2 separate regions of the Homo sapiens genome follow, and region 2 is linked to region 1. Evidence: promoter capture Hi-C in 16 types of primary human blood cells and fetal thymus (Javierre and others, 2016). All regions are on one chromosome and are shown on one strand. The core of a region is centred on a gene start or on the middle of the fragment in contact, and the rest is flanking DNA. Distances in the headings are between cores, read along the strand shown.

Region 1 (4,390 bases), core at 239-2,738:
TAGCTAACATTACAATTCTAAGAGCAAAGTAGTGCTGCTATTTTTTGACATTTGCATCAACAGGATAGATTCAGAAGTTCTCCAGTCTGCTTCCCTTTACAAAACACTAAATAAACAATAAATAAATTTAAAAATATGTAAAGGTTTTAAAATGCCCTAAAATTATTCGAGCAGGGAGTTCGAGGAATACAAAACATCTCTGATTCTGTAGTATAGTTGTATATCGTAGGTATAGTGACCCAATCAAATTATCTTGAAGTTTAGAGTCCAGAAAAAGTACTGGCCCTTTGAAATACCCTAGATGGGGCACTTATTTAATGAGCACTCGCTACATGGTATTTTCACATGTGCAGTTTTGCTGAGTAGCTGTAAGTATTTCAACTTTGCATACGGATTTGAAATCACATCTCTTAGATTGCAAACCTCATGCTACACCAGTGCAGAACTGTAACTCTTCAACTATCATTTCTCAAACGTTTCCTAACAATATACATATGTATTTAAAGCTTTTTAAAAGCCTGCATTCCTAAAGATGACACTCTAAAGAGCAAAATGACTTACGTAAGCATGTCATAACCTGAACTTGGATCTTTAAGTTCTTAGCTGGCTTTCTGAATAAAAAGTACCGATTCAGCTCCTAGCCAATCTGCTCAAACATGCTTCAGAACACTATGCCCGCGGTATTCGGAATTGAAGAGTTTTACAACAATTACGGGGGAAACCATAGTCAGCCTAACAAACTGAGCATGCAATTTCAAAGGAAGTAAAATCTTCGAAGAACCTTCTACCCCACCTGGAGGGCCTGAAAGCAGTGCAGTGCCCCTTGGCGAAACAAACCACAGTTCAGAAACCACTAGATGCACAGGCGGCCAGTGTCCGGCCAGCAAGGCCCAGCTATGGGGCAGGACGGTGCGGGAGCTGCCCCTCTCCCAGCACCCTCCGCCCACGCCGGCACTGTCCTTGAGGGCAGCGCCCCGGGGCTGGGGGCCTGCGCGCCAGCAGCAGCGAAGTTACCTCAAAACGCCCCGGCCTCGGCCCGCCACGGACGGCTCCGAGGAGGCGCCGGGAGCGGGCCCAGTAGGACCCTCTCTGACAGCCCCCGTCCCTCCCCAAGCGCTCTCCCGGGCTGCGGCTCCATCCCTGCGCCGGAAGAGGCGTCCCGAGGCCGGGAGGCCCGCCACGCCGGCACGGGCGCTAAGCCCAGAGTCTGGCGCGGCCCGGACGCCCGGGGAATCTCTCCCGCCAAGTCGCGGGCGCCCAGGCCGGCAGGCAGGAGGGCTGAAGGTCACTGCGGGGAGGCCGGGGGATGGCGGCCTGCGCTCACCATTCGAGCCGCGTTCGGAGGCCAAAACGAGGGCACGGCCGCGCCACCCAAGCCGGGAGCCGAAGCTAAGGCTGCGGCTGGAGCCCGCACGAGGGGACGCGAGCGCGCGAGGAGCCGAAGTGCTCGGTACATGGTGCTGAGGGAGCTTGGGTAGAATTTCTGGGCGGCTGTGGCCACGCCTCCACGCCGGTTGTCAGAAACCGTTCCGCCCACCGGCCTCCGCTCTTATCCAATCAACAGCCTCACACCGACAGGTGGGGCAGGACCAATCGTGAATGACCAGTAAAGAATGAGGGGGCGGGTTAACTTTCTAGTAGTAGTGTGGGGTGTAAGGCCTTCGGATTCATGGGAAACTAGAAAGAAGGGAATTATGGGAAAGGAGGCTCAGGTTATTCTTGGAGCCGGTCTGATTTTTACGTGTGGCTGTTAGAAGGCGGGAGTATTAGTTGGTGAATCAGGTCGTGTTTGGTTGGTGAAATATCCTAGAAAGAAATATTTATTGTTTTATTTATCATGTAATCACTCATTACACGTTCTTACTACTGAAATCTTTCTTCATTTCTTCCAGATTGTATCTTCTGTGTAGAAATTTTGGGAAGTGCAGCAAAGTGTAGATAATGAAATAGTAATTATTCATAATCCCACAACTGAAAAATAAGCTACTTACTTATTTCTTTTAACTTATCATTTTGAGATCGCTACCGTTTCCTTTCTCTTCTTAGCCTATACCCTCAGAACTCTTTTTTTTTTTTTAATGTATTGTGGAAGACGTACACAATTATAGGGAACCTCGGAATTTTTATTATTTGTATATCGTTCTCCCAGTTTTTTGCATAGCTAATTTATACATTTTCAAATTAAAGGCATATTGTTTTAATATAATAGTTGATTACAGAAAAGCAGGAATTGATATAAAATTGCATCTGAACCACAGTTTTATCTTTTCTCTTTTCTATTGCTTGGAACCAGATGACAGTAAAGAGAGAGCGATCGGATGTTCTTAAAATCAAAAGTCCAGAACCTGCAAAGCCAAATTTATGAGTCAAACTTACAAACTTGCCAAACCTTTTGGTAACATTATGTTATTTTGTGACTTATAAATTTGACACATATTTAAAATATAAAAATTCAAATGAGATTGTAATAGTTGAACTACAATCAAAACACACTAGAAAACTGAATGCAAATTCTTTAAAACATTGCTAATAATGGAATGACGTTTTGTTTTTGTTCTCCTCCTTCCCAGCAGGTATCATTATTGTGTATATCATTATTTTGATGCATCCTTTCAGTTCTGTGTATTTTTTGCTTCATACACTAATATACAAACAATGGTTTTAATATTTTACTTTAAAGTTTTACTGTTGCATAATTGAACTCTATGCTTTTAAGATATAGCCATGATCTTTTAAAATTAATCATATTGGATCACATGAATATGAAATATTTTATTTATCCAGTTTCTTAATAAAGAACATTTTTCTTTGCTATTACACAAAATTATTTAATGAACATATGTTTATCATTTCTTCATAGATCATCTCTTTCTTCATTGTGTGGTGCCCCTCTTTATTGTTATTGTTGCTTGTCCTTTTAAACTTTTTTTAATATTGATATTTCTCTACCAATTTCATATTGGCTATTATTTGCCTGCTGTATATTTCTCATTTTATTTTATTTTTTGTTTCATTTTTGTTTCGAGCATGTCTCTTATTTCTACCATACAGTTTAACTTTTCAAAACCCAAATTAATAGCCTTTTTATAAATAGGTTATTTTAATCCCTTTTAAAAATTACCTATGACACATATTATGTTCTAGAATTTTTCAAAGCACTTTATATGTATTAATTCTTGGAACACTCAAAAACAACCCTATGAGATAGGTCCTATTATTATTCCTGTACATAGAAGAGAAAAATTGATGCCCAGGAACATCCACATATTTATTTGTGTGTTTTACTTCGATTTATTAGTGAAACTGATTTTCTATCTGCAGTAGTAATATGAAGTTCCATTTTTAATTATTCATTTTATTTGAAGTAAAATATTCAGTATAATATGAAGATGCTATATAAATGACTAAAATTTAGGAAATATTAACTTAGCTAATTTATTTTTATTAATTCGTAATAAAACGTACATAAAGCCTTTAATAAAGGCTAGATATCTTCATTTTAGAATGACTTATGTTATCTATTTGAAATAATGTTTTTACTTTGCTTAGAGTTTGGGTTTTTTTTTTTTAACTTTGGACTTGTCTGATAATAATATTGACCTGCTTTCTTCTTGTTGATGCTTGCCTGGTTTGTTCTTGTTTGTTTTACTTTGCTTTCTGTTTAAGGTAGGGGATGTGATTGGTGTCCTGCTGAGGGACAAGGGAAAAGTGCAATGGTTTTCTCTTGCCTGTGTTCTAAATCTCAACACCTGGCTGACAAAATTGATTGCGAGGTTCAAATTGTATCAATCAAAATGTTCTCCTTATTCAAACTAAAGACTTTTGCAAATTCTAATTTAGGATACCTCCCAGCCTGGGAGATTACCAGTGGGTTTCCTAGAGGAAGCTTAACAGAAAATTTGCAAGATACACCCATAAAAGTCTCCCAGAAAGTAGAGCAAATATTCAAAGAGAAGGAAAATAAAAGAAGTAAATAAAATTAGAGAAACAGTTCAGTATGTCCAACATGTGAATAATGTAGGGGAAACATTAGGAAAAAATGGAATAAACCTTAAAAAAATAAATTCAGAAAAATATATTGTAGAACTAGCAGATATGAACTAGCCAGAATGAGTTATGTCAACAAGAAATGTTAGAATACCAAGGGCAAAGAGAAGAGACTGGAATCTTTCAGAGAGAAAAATAAATAAGCAAAGGATTAGAAATCCTTAGACTTCACAACAACAATATCGGAAGCCAGACAGCAGTTGAATGATGTCTTCAAATTGTTAACGGAAAATTATTTCCAACTTTATATTCTATACCCAGAGAAATCAAGTGTGTGAAGAGAATTAAAATGTTTTCACATGATCAAGATGTCAAAAAATTTACTTCTTATCTACACTTTTCA
Region 2 (4,337 bases), core at 1,624-4,123, 1.8 Mb after region 1:
TATTTTTATCAATTTAAAACAAATCAGGAAATTCTAAAGTGAAGATCACTCTGCTTCCATGAATTTTATATTTGCAGCAACTTATTCTTTTTTAAACAAAAAGGGCTTTTATGAAACTGCTAATAATTGTAACTTTGTTCAGTATTACATGTTTCTTCAAATGTGGCTGCTTTCCAAATACCACAAATAGTTTATTTTACCTTTAAGAGATGTTTTAAATTGAATCATTGGTTAATTCTGAAAGTAATTCAAGCAGAGTTTATAATCCTCTACACTATGACTCTTTAAAACTTGCTAATTAAAAAAAAATCATAGTTGGCCCTTTTCTCATAGTTTAGACCTTGGCAATGAAAAGGAAACTGCAAGCATTTATTTCAAATGAATTTGAAACCGTGGTTTAGTCTTCAACTCTTTAACAAAACAGGGAACACCATATGTAACAGTCCAGCATACATTTTTTGCTTTTTATGTCTTGAAAGTTTCCTGCCTCACTTTCTCTTTGTCTACTGGATATTTTTATTCAGTTGATAAATTGCAAATATCCTAGAATATTTTATATGGGACTTATTTAATCAATGAGATTGTATCCTTGCTATTTTACATGCCAGAGCATTTTGGCATTTGGTTCACTTCTACTCCCAATAAACAGCTTAGGATAGAGTACTTCTGAGAATTGCTGAAGAAGGGTGGGTCTTGGCAATGATCAAACCCAGTGGGATAAGATTGTGTTAAATTGTGAATGTTATATGCATAGCCAGGAGATTGGAGGAGTTCAACAGTACTAATCATTGAGCAACAACAAGTGTTCATAAGTAACTGAAAGAATGTAATTGAAAGAGAAGTGCAAAAAAGAGGATTGTGGAGAAAGATAAAAAGGAAAGGACATATATTTGTTCAAGTAAATGAGAGGAGAATCTGCTGCATGGACAAAGCCTCAGTCCTTCCTTAAAATGTTGACTGCTACCTTGATTTACAATTCGTACCTTCCCTACTTTGCTGCATTTTTCCTTTTCAGCACCTCCCCCCACTTTTAAAAAACTAATTTGCTCTTCTCTGGGCTTTCCCCTGCAGCCCTCTCCACAATAGATGATTGTCCCGCACAGATGCCGTCCTGCCACGAAGGCTCTTAGCCTTTCTGGCTGCTCCGCCCGCCGCTCGCCAAGTGAGGACAGAGGGTCTTTCTCTGGGGTGTGCTTTATTTCATATGTGCTCAGCCGGCCTACCCTGGCTCTTCTAATACATATTAATGCTTTTCTCTCCCTGACTTATGAGGACAGGATCGTTTGATCATTTCTTGTTTTGAATGTTCTTTTTGTGCTGACAGAGAAAGAGATGACTTGATGTCTGCACTAGTTTCCGTAAGGAGCAGCTTGGCAGATACGCAGCAAAGAGAAGCAAGTGCTTATGAACAGGTGAAACAAGTTTTGCAAATATCTGAGGAAGCCAATTTTGAAAAAACCAAGGCAAGTCTAATAAGATGCAAATAAAAGTGTCTTTCTTTTTTTTTTCTTTTTTCTTCTGAGTATTTATTTGGTTATTCTTCTATAACTAAACTTTGTTTTTCAAACACACAAAGTGAATTATCAATCTGTTAATGTTGACTTTTCTGAATTAAACAAATTTGCTATTTGGAGAATTCTTACTGCTCTGCAAATACTGTTGTTGTATCACTGTTCAGAGAATGTAGTACAGTATAATACTTTGAGAGACCTATATGCTTAATCTTTTTATTTGCTGATAATTTGCAATGCTGCAAAAATCTTAACACCCAGGCATTAGTTTGTATGTGTTCGTATATGACTAAAGACAAATGTTTTTCCTCAATAATTGGGAAGTTTTGAGAAAATCCAAATATACCAAAGACAATAATATATACATATTTAGTAGCATTTTTTTTTTTTTTTTTTTGAGACAGAGTCTTGCCCTGTCGCCCAGGCTGGAGTGCAATGGCACGATTTCGGCTCACAGCAACCTCTTCCTCCTGGGTTCAAGTGATTCTCCTGCCTCAGCCTCCCAAGTAGCTGGGATTACAGACACGGGCCATCATGCCCAGCTAATTTTTGTATTTTTAGCAGAGATGGTGTTTCACCATGTTAGCCAGGCTGGTCTGGAACTCATGACCTCAGGTGATCTGCCCATCTCGTCCTCCCAAAGTGCTGAGATTACAGGCGTGAGCCACTGCGCCCGGTCTTAGTAGCATCTTTGAGTCTGGACTTACTGTAAGGTAACTCAAACATACTTAATGAGAATAACAGTTTATACTTAGTGATCGGACGGTGTTATAGGCACTTTGAAGAATAGGAGGTTACTGTTGATTCATTACTGTATTTGGGGGCCACACCGTAATCCGTTAAAGTTGCATGTATTTTCCCTAGACACACTAGCATACAATTCAAGTTCTTAATGGCCACGTGTAGCAAATATTGGACAGTGCAGATATAGAGCATTTTCATTATCATGAAAAGTTTTGTTGGATAGCACTGGTCTAAACCATATATGAATCTCAGTGTTTTATTAAAATATTAGGGCTACATTACTGAGTATATGCCCAGAGGAATATAAATCATTCTGCTGCAAAGACACATGCATGTGAATTGTCATTGCAGCACCCTTCACAATAGCAAACGTAAACGATGGAATTGATGGAATCAACCGAAATTGACGGAATCAATCTAAATGTTCATCACTGACAGATTGTATAAAGAAAATGTGGAACATGGACACCATGGAATAGTATGCAGCCATAAAAAGAATGAGATCCGATCTTTTGCAGGAACATGCATGGAGCCGGAGACAGTTATCCTTAGCAAACTAACGCAGGAACAGAAAGCCAAATACTGCATATTCTTACGTATAAGTGGGAGCTAAATGATAAGAACTTATGAGCACAAAGTAGGAAACCACAGACAGTGGCATCTCCTTGAGGATATAGGGTGGGAGCAGGGAGAGGAGCAGAAGAGATCACTATTGGGTACTGGGCTTAATACCTGGGTGATAAAATAATCTGTATAACAAAACCCCGTGACATGAGTTTGCCTATGTAACAAACCTTCACATGTACCCCCGAACCTAAAATAAAAGTTAAAAAAAAATTAGGGCTATTCAATTCTGCATTAAGCCTCTTGTCAGCCATTGCTATGTCCATTTGTCTTTATCCAGTTCATCCATAACTCTTCCCGTTTGACCCTCATGCCTTTTGAAACTTAGGTTCAGTTATGACCAAACTCCCCAACATACTGTTTCCTCAGACTCTCCTGTTTCTTCATTTGTTGTGAGCTCTAGCTGTCCCTCAATGCCATGTTTCAAAACCTTCAGTGAAGGCCCTTGTGTCAGTCAAGTCGTCTCAGGTGGGTGTGATGGAGGAAACCGCAGTTACTTCACTCCTGACTGCCATTTCCAGGGCTTTGTTTTGGCACTTACTCTCAGGTCCTATTCCTCTTTGAAATTAAGCTACCGCTCTGTGTTAATCTGTTTTGCATTGCTATAAAGAAAGAGCAGAGATTGGTAATTTATAAAGAGAAGTAAGTGGTTTATTTTGGCTCATGTTGTGCAGGCTGCATACGAAGCATGGTGCCAACATATGCTTCTGGTAAGGCCTCAGGAAGATTTCACTCTGACAGCAGGCAGAGGGGAGCAAGCCTCACAAGGGAGCAGGACTGAGCGAGGAGGAGAGGGGCCAGGCCCTTTCTAACAATCAGACCTCAGGATAACTAATAGGGCACCAAGCCATTCATGAGGGATCCACCCCCATGACCCAAACACCTCCCACCAGGCCCCACCTCCAACACTGGAAGTCACATTTCAACATGAGAGATTTGGAGAGGACAGGTATCCAAACCATATCACACTCCTCTTTGAAATCAGTGTTGTCTCTCTCCTCCCTAATCAATAAAATCTCTCAATTGAGAAGGCTCTCTTTGACCCTTTCTATTTTATTTTTATTTTTATTATCATTTTTTTGAGACAGAGTTTCATTCTTGTTGCCCAGGCTGGAGTGCAATGGCGCAATCTCAGCTCACTGTAACCTCAGCTTCCTGGAATCAAGTGATTCTCCCACCTCAGCCTCCCAAGTAGCTGGGATTACAGGCATGCGCCACCATGCCTGGCTAATTTTGTTTTTTTAGTAGAGACAGGGTTTCACAATGTTGGCCAGGCTGGTCTCAAACTCCTGAGCTCAGGTGATGCACCCATCTTGGCCTCCCAAAGTGCTGGGATTACAGGCGTGAGCCACCGCGCCTGGCCCCTTTTTAAAAGTTTTAACATCTGATCCTTTTCCTCTTCATTCTATCTCTTTCATCATCCTTAAATGTTTGAATTTCCATGTTGCTGATACACAA

Evidence for each region. Contacts are between HindIII fragments. The CHiCAGO score rates a contact against its expected background, and 5 or more counts as called.
Region 2: a fragment that was not itself captured here is called in contact with the fragment with the promoter of FH in region 1 in 5 of 17 cell types (naive CD4 T cells, non-activated CD4 T cells, total CD4 T cells and 2 more); the score reaches 11.0 in naive CD4 T cells.

What each region holds. Positions count from the first base shown.
Region 1 is chr1:241,518,267-241,522,656 of GRCh38, forward strand. FH (fumarate hydratase) reads right to left here and starts at 1,489. Exons shown (of 10, transcript NM_000143.4): 1 at 1,325-1,489. The coding sequence starts at 1,456. RefSeq lists silencers at 924-1,193, 1,369-1,651, 1,474-1,603 and an enhancer at 1,267-1,863. The HindIII fragment of the contact is 3,380 bases long and covers 505-3,884 here.
Region 2 is chr1:243,315,431-243,319,767 of GRCh38, forward strand. SDCCAG8 (SHH signaling and ciliogenesis regulator SDCCAG8) reads left to right here. Exons shown (of 18, transcript NM_006642.5): 9 at 1,325-1,463. Among named protein-coding and RNA genes, the nearest start is that of MIR4677, 29 kb to the right of the region's middle. RefSeq lists a silencer at 937-1,231. The HindIII fragment of the contact is 8,285 bases long and covers 1-4,337 here.